Regions from separate parts of the Homo sapiens genome. Here region 2 is linked to region 1. The links are contacts of gene promoters, found by promoter capture Hi-C in human tissues and cell types (Jung and others, 2019). All regions are on one chromosome and are shown on one strand. The core of a region is centred on a gene start or on the middle of the fragment in contact, and the rest is flanking DNA. Distances in the headings are between cores, read along the strand shown.

What was found. The method cuts DNA at HindIII sites, captures the fragments that hold promoters and counts their contacts. A contact is called where the count stands out against the background at its distance.
Region 2: a contact is called between a fragment that was not itself captured here and the fragment with the promoter of CDK3 in region 1, in 1 of the 25 tissues and cell types used here (stomach).

The regions. Positions count from the first base shown.
Region 1 is chr17:75,998,916-76,002,636 of GRCh38, reverse strand. It overlaps CDK3 (cyclin dependent kinase 3), which reads right to left and starts at 1,782. Exons shown (of 8, transcript NM_001258.4): 1 at 1,670-1,782; 2 at 1,096-1,225; 3 at 686-763; 4 at 495-615; 5 at 219-389; 6 at 25-126. The coding sequence starts at 1,211. TEN1 (TEN1 subunit of CST complex) reads right to left here. Exons shown (of 4, transcript NM_001113324.3): 4 at 2,051-2,496. The coding sequence ends at 2,375. TEN1-CDK3 (TEN1-CDK3 readthrough (NMD candidate)) reads right to left here. Exons shown (of 10, transcript NR_037709.1): 4 at 1,096-2,496; 5 at 686-763; 6 at 495-615; 7 at 219-389; 8 at 25-126. LOC124904061 (a long non-coding RNA gene) reads left to right here and starts at 2,077. Exons shown (of 2, transcript XR_007065911.1): 1 at 2,077-2,832; 2 at 3,001-3,721. RefSeq lists a silencer at 1,896-1,975 and an enhancer at 2,106-2,155. The HindIII fragment of the contact is 30,775 bases long and covers 1-3,721 here.
Region 2 is chr17:76,705,299-76,709,019 of GRCh38, reverse strand. The region is part of intron 1 of MXRA7 (matrix remodeling associated 7); the gene reads left to right. Among named protein-coding and RNA genes, the nearest start is that of MXRA7, 3.8 kb to the left of the region's middle. The HindIII fragment of the contact is 4,690 bases long and covers 1-3,721 here.

The DNA of each region.
Region 1 (3,721 bases), core at 533-3,032:
GGCCATGTGTGCCCCTCTCTCTACCATCTCTGCAAAGATGCAACCAATGCTCCAGATATCCACAGCTGTGGTATAGAACTTGCTGCCCAAGAGAATCTCGGGGGCGCGATACCACAGTGTCACCACCTGCAGGGCAAAGAAACAGTATCACTCAGGGTGGCTGAGTGCATGGGTGACACTCCTCCTGCTGCCCCTCTCTCCTCTTTGTCTCACAATACCTCATGGGTGTAGGTGCGCAGGGGCACCCCGAAGGCGCGAGCCAGGCCGAAGTCAGCCAGCTTGATGGCACCCAACTCATTGATGAGCAGGTTCTGGGGCTTCAGGTCTCGGTGGATGACCCGATGTGAGTGGCAGAAACTCACCCCCTGCAGCAGCTGGAAGAGGTAGCTCTGGAGAAACGAGCGCGAGGTGCAGCCAGCTGAGCGGAGGTGCTGCGTGGACAGGGATGGCAGGGATGGGGTGTCACCTCTCCTTCCCTGCCCTTCCTTCCCTACCTTGATGAGGTGCAGGGGGAGCTCTGAGCCTGGGGTGGAGTCCATGTACTTCTTCAGGTCCTGGCTGAGGAACTCAAACACCAGATAGAGCTTCCTCTCGTTGTGCACCACGTCCAGCAGTCTGACAGGGAGATGGCAGTCAGGATGCTACCTTCGCCATCCCAGCTTCCCCACCTCAATCCCCAACTCACCGGACGATGTTGGGGTGCTTCAGTTCCTTGAGCAGCGAGATCTCCCTGATGGCAGTGCTTGGGACCCCCTCCATCTCCCTGCAAGAAACAAGGGCACAGCCGTGGGCAGAGACTTGGGCCAAGAAGGGCACTTCCAGCCAGGGGGATCGGCTTCTCCTTAACCCCACAGAATGACCAGGGCCCCGGCAATGGAGACCTGTGCTCCTTGGCACGTCATCCACCAAACTCCACAGTCAGGGCCCCGGCAAAGGCTGGTCAGAAGGCAGTGAACTGGGGAGAGGACAGGTAAGGGCTGCTGGGCAGCACCCAGAGGAGTTAAACGTGGACTCCAGGAAAGAGGGAACGGATCAGGGAGCGCCCAGGTTGTGATGGCCCAGGGTGGGTAACTCAGGGGCCGTCCCAGCACTCACAAATCCAGTCTGATCTTCTTCAGGGCCACCAGCTGCCCTGTCTCCCTGTTCTTGGCCTTGTACACCACCCCATAGGTGCCCTCTCCGATCTTCTCTACCTTCTGGAACATATCCATGGCCACAGAGCTGCCTGGGAAACAGAAGGCACCGGGCAATTTGCACCCCACGCCCAGCGCTCCCGTTGCTCCTCCAGCTTCCATGTGGCGCCCTGCCCAGCCCAGCCCAGCCCAGACTGCCCAGCTCCCAAGGCCCACGGCCTAGCCACCCCAACCCCAGCTCATCCTGCCTGGGAACCTGGCTGGGGGTCGGAAACCGCCCCTCACCCAGCCCAGCCCGGACCCCAAGGGGGTCAGGGGGCCCCCTTCACCCAGCCCAGTTCAGCCAGGACCCCCAGGCTTCTCGCCCATGCCCGGCCTCGGAGGGCAGGGCCCACACTCTCCCACCCAGCCCCCTGCCCATCCCAGCCAGAACCCCCAGGAAGTCAGAGACCACCCCTCGCCCAGCCCAGCCCAACATGGACCCCCAGGCCTCTCACTTGTGCCGGGCCTTAGAGGGCAAGACCACCCTTTCCCACCTGGGTCACTGCCCAGCCCAGCCAGTCCCAGGCTCTGGGTACACATGGCGGCCAGGAAGGGCTGCCCAGGGGCCAGGGCCACTGGGGGCAGAGGTCAGGGGTCAGGAGGGTCTTAAAGCCACAGTCCTGTCTTAGGCTGCACGGTCAGGGCCCAGGGCCTCAGCCCGGCCCGTGTGACGACGCTCAGCCTCCTCTGAAGGCAGAGCCTGGCCAGGGGCAGACCCCTGCATCCTGGGCCCCCCACCCCAGCCCCTGGGCCCCTGGTGCCCTACCCTGAGGCCCCAGGCCCAGAATTCACCAGAAGCCCTGAGAGGCTGCAGCCCACAGCCTGGGTTGCAGCTCCCCCTCCTGGCCCCCGCCGGCGCTGCACCACGAGCACACTTCAAGAGCACGCCCCCTGGGCCTTTATTCACCAGGACCTTCTGGAACCCTCCATGGCCCCACACCAAGCACGGCCCCGGCGCCCAAGCTCGGCCACCTGCAGTCTCCTGGGGTGGGGCTGTCGGATTTATGGCATGCTTTCTGGGTTCTCATTGCTGAGCCAATCCCAAAGTAGGGGAAGGGGCTGGATTCATCACCCGCCCCTCGGCTTTCGAGCTCCAGACAAGGCCGTCGCTGGGGAGGCGTCTGTGCTCTCCCGGGCTCCTGCAGCTCCAGAGGGTTCGGGCTCTGAAGCAGGTGAGGGTGTTGCTAGGCTGCTGTTTCCTACTGGCTGCCGCCCCGCTCCTGCTTGTACAGTCTCTGCTCCCGGATGGCTTGTTCCAACAAGGGCAGGTTCATCCCCTCCACACAGGTCAGCACGCGCGCCTTCACCACGGAGCCTCTGTCTGCAAGACAAACACCAGGGCACGAACGGCGACTGAGCGGCGTGTCAACAACGTCCTCCAAGGTGCATTCCAGCTGTTCCCTCCACAGCTCAGTCCTGGGTTTTGGCAGCAAGTGATGTGGACAATAACAGCATATGGGGCAAAGGCAACTGAGTATTTGGGCCTAGAACCGTGGGCCTGTCATGCACAGTCGGCCCGTGTCTGGAACTTAGCAGGTGGTCAGAAAACCCCTCTGGACTGAGGGAAAGGCCCCCTTGGCACCTTGGGACACAATGTCATCAGGAACCGGGGAAAAGAGACACCCATATTTTAAAAATCCAAGAGACTGAGCTCCCGGTAAGTTTGGCTTTATAGGAGCAGGTCATCCCACCCTGGACGAGGGGGGCTTCTAGCAGATGCGGTGGTGACCTGATACATAATGGAAAGGTTTGCCACTATTCAGGTGGCACCAAACAGGAAAGACATCTCCGAGAGACTTTTTAAAAATTTTCTTTCTTTTGACAGGTGAACTGGCTCACACCTGTAATCTCAGCACTTTGGGAGGCCAAGGCATGTGGAACACTTGAGGTCAGGAGTTCAAGACCAGCCTGGCCAACATGATGAAACCCCATCTCTACTAAAAATACAAAAATTAGCCGCGTGTAGTGGTGCATGCCTGTAATCCCAGCTACTTGGAAGGCTGAGGCAGGAGAATTGCTTGAACCCAGGAGGTGGAGGTTGCAGTGAGCCAAGATCACGCCACTGCACTCCAGCCTGGGCAACAGAGCAAGACTCCACCTAAAAAAAAAAATTTTTTTTTTGAGACAGGGTGTTGCTCTGTCACTTGGGCTGGAATGCAGTGGCTCAATCATGGCTCAATGTAGCCTCCACCTCCCAGGCTCAGGTGATCATCTCAGCTTCCTGAGGAGCTGGGACTACAGGGACGCACCACCACACCCAGCTAATTTTTGTATTTCTTGTAGAGATGGGGTCTCGCCATGTTGCCCAGGCTGGTTTCAAACTCCTGGGGTCAAGTGATCTGCCCGCCTCGGCCTCCCAACATGCATGGATTATAGGCGTGAGCCACTGTGCATTGCTGACATTTTTTTTTTCTTTCTTTTTTCCCCAGTCATAGCTTGCAAGAGAAAAAAAAAAGTTAAAAAAATTTTTTGCACTCATGCTCTTTCTGCTCTCTGAGCACTTTAATAAATAGATTTCCGAGATGGGTGGATCACCTGAGGTCAGG
Region 2 (3,721 bases), core at 908-3,407, 710 kb before region 1:
TAAATAGGGCCACTCGCATAATTTGCCACTGTCTGGGTGAATGCACGTCCTCTGAAGCTGAATGGGTGCTCTGAAGGACAAGGCAGTATGGGGGTTCGCGTGCCAGGCAGCCCCCATGACATAGGTGCCAGTGAGGATGACTTGAGGCTTGTGTCTGTCCTCCCGCTAAGGCACCCTCCAGAGAGAACCCACCCCACAGGAGAATTCAATTGAAGTCAGTGCCCTTCCCCTTTGGGTTCAAGTCCCCAGGCCTTCCTGAGCTGGCCAAAGCTCCCCCAAAACTCCTGCCTGCAAACATTAAGCCAGGTGCTGTGGGGACACAGATATTGTGTCATCCCACCCACTCCCAGTGGTGGCATTAACCTAAGAAGCTGCTTAGAAATTGTCTTGATGAGCTTCGAGTCAGTGACAAGAAAAAAAAGAAAGGAAAACAAATTGTCCTGAAGTGGACTCCAGCGTTTCCAAGAGCTTCCAGTGCTTTCTTCTGATGATCACACTGCTGGGGCTTGGAGGACAGATAGGGAGAAAGGCCCCCTGGGGAAGATAACTCAAATCAGGGTTGGGAAGTGGGGCTATGCCCTCTGCCAGCCTCCTTCTCCCTCCGTCCCTAAGCGAACCCCACCAACAGCGAGGGAGGAGGGCAACTCCACCTGCTGTTAGCTCGGAAGTCACTGCCCTGGGGAGCAGCGTGTAACTCACCTCTCCCCTCCCTCTTCATTTTCCATTAACTGCCTCCTTTCTAATCCAGTCCTCTCCCTTCCCAGGGAGGCCTGGGCGGGCTGGGGCAGCTGCTGCCTCTGACTACAAAGCTGATTATTGAGAAGGATCTCTCGCCCCGGGAAGCAGCCTTCAGCTGCTATTGGGGATCGCTCAGGAGCGTCCCCTAGTGCACGGTGCCCTCTTTGGCCAAGGACAAAGTAGTGGGGAGGGGCTACTATAGGCCGAGACCCTGGAAATGGACCAAAGAAATGGGGATGAGATCAGTGCAGCTCTTGCTTCCCCAGGGCAGCACAGGCCAGGGCAGGGAGGCTGAGGAGAAGCGGAATGATACTGCTAGAACCTCTTTTCTCTCCTAAGGATTAGCACAGGGTGGGCTGTGAGGAAGCATTATAGGCAAGGCCTGTTCACGCAAAGAATCATGAGCCAACGAAGTCAAGAACAGGAGCCGGCCTCTTTTCAGGCCAGGACTCAGGGCTTTCTTGGTGCTCCTGTGTAGGTTGGGGTTTTAGGATTGCCAGGCCTCTTACCTAATGGACTTGTGGATTGGAGCAAGGCTGGATGGTCGGATTCCCAAACATTGGTAATTGGCAAAGCGTCAAGGGTCATTTGAATAGCACTAGAGTTAAATTTCTTGTCTGTGCCAGGACTCAAGTATCTCGGTACTTGGGGCCTAGCTCTGCTCATAGACAGACTAGAGCCCGGGCGCGATGGCTCACACCTGTAATCCCAGCACTTTGGGAGGCCGAGGCAGGAGGATCACCTGAGGTCAGGAGTTCGAGACCAACCTGGCCAACATGGCGAAACCCCGTCTCTACTAAAAATACAGAAATTAGCCAGGCATGGTGGCGTGCACGTCATCCCATCTACTCAGGAAACTGAGGCAGGAGAATCACTTGAACCCAGGAGGCTGAGGTTGCAGTTGAGCCAAGATCGTGCCACTGCACTTCAGCCTGGGCAACAGAACGAGACTCCATCTCAAAAAAAAAAAAAAAAAAAAAAAAAAAAAAAGAGTAGGGACTTCCTGCAAGGCAGTGGGCCGGTGTCATGAAGCACACAGAGACTCTTCTAGATTTAATTGGGATTTAGGAGATTAAAGCAATATGACAAATAAATACAATCTTGATCCTTGATTGGATTCTCCATCAGAGAAGGGAGCTATAAAGGACATACTGGAGATAATTGAGACATTTTTTAAATGAATGGCTGTGTTAGGTAAGCTTATTGAATCAACGCTGAATTTTTTGTGTACGATACCGGCAGATGGCTGTGTAAACAATGTCCTTATCCTTAGGAAGATGCAGGCTGAAACATTTTGGGATGACATGTCATGATTCAAATAGTTACATGCACACACACACACAGTGTGTGTGTGTATAGAGAGAGAATGCAAAGATGGCAAAATGTTAACCATTGGTGAATCTAGGTGAAGGGTGTATGGTATTCATTGTATTATTATTTCAACTTTTCTGTAGGTTTGGAATTTTTCAAAAGAGAATGTTGGAACAAAGAAGCCAACATTCTTCTTTGGGAAATTTCTTGGGAAAGGGGTTGGTTTTTCAGACACTCTGGAGGTGGTGGTCTGAGTGGGTAGCACAGCCTTCATCTGTCTGTCTTAACCATGTGACTTGGCCCTGGTTCCCCTGAAGTCACCCTGCTGTCAGGTCCACCTGTGTCCTCTGCCCTCACCAACCTGTTCACCATAGGTGTGGGCTCTGGAAGCTACAGAGACCCCAGCCTTCCCAGAATGACCCAGGAGCAGGTGAACTTCCCCATCATCTCTCCTGCCTTTGTGATGGCAGTGTGGTCCTTTTTGATGGCAGTGTGGTCCTTTTTGATGGCAGTGTGGTCCTTTTTGATGGCAGTGTGGTCCTTTGTGATGGCAGTGTGGGCCTCTGTGACGGCAGCGTGGGCCTCTGTGACGGCAGCGTGGGCCTCTGTGATGGCAGAGTGGGCCTCTGTGATGGCAGCGTGGTCCTTTGTGATGGCAGCGTGGGCCTCTGTGACGGCAGCGTGGGCCTCTGTGACGGCAGCGTGGGCCTCTGTGATGGCAGAGTGGGCCTCTGTGACGGCAGAGTGGGCCTTTGTGATGGCAGCGTGGGCCTCTGTGATGGCAGCGTGGGCCTCTGTGACGGCAGCGTGGGCCTCTGTGACGGCAGTGTGGTCCTTTGTGATGGCAGCGTGGGCCTTTGTGATGGCAGCGTGGGCCTTTGTGATGGCAGTGTGGTCCTCTGTGATGGCAGTGTGGTCCTTTGTGATAGCAGAGTGGGCCTTCGTGATGGCAGTGTGGTCCTCTGTGATGGCAGTGTGGGCCTTTGTGATGGCAGTGTGGTCCTACTTTCTGTTCTCTTAGCAAAATCTCAGAAGCCAAGTAGTGGAGGGCCAAGTAGATATTTGCCAGTTGTTTATATCACTTTAGGTCCTTGTCTTTAAGCAGCTTAGGCTGATATATCAAAATACCACAGACTGGGTTGCTTAAACAACAGGCATTATTTCCTACACTTTTGGAGGCTGGGAAGTCCAAGATGGAGGTGTTGGCAGATTCTGGTTTTGGTGAGGGCTCTCTTTTTGGCCTGCAGACAGCCACCTTCTTGCTGTACTTTCACATGCCAGAGAGAGAGGGATGTCTCTTCCTCTTCTTATCAGGGCCCTCATAGCATTGTAGGGACTCCACCATCGTGACCTCGTCTAAATCTCACCTCCCAAAGACCCCCACCTCCAGATACCATCACACTGGGGGTTAAGACTTCAACAGATAGATTTGCAGGGGACACAAATATTTAGTCCAGAACAGGCCCAGTGACTTACTGGGGAAAAAACTAGAAATAATCCAAATGTTCATTAATTAGCACATTGGATTCATTAGCAAATTAGTATGAAATAAGTAAAAAGGTAGAACATAAAATATTGTATTCACAATAACTATAACGATATAGAGCAACTGAATAGAAGATGCCTTGGAGGGCTGTAAGTAGAGTTCCCTGTTCAGTAGTTCCAGTGGGTA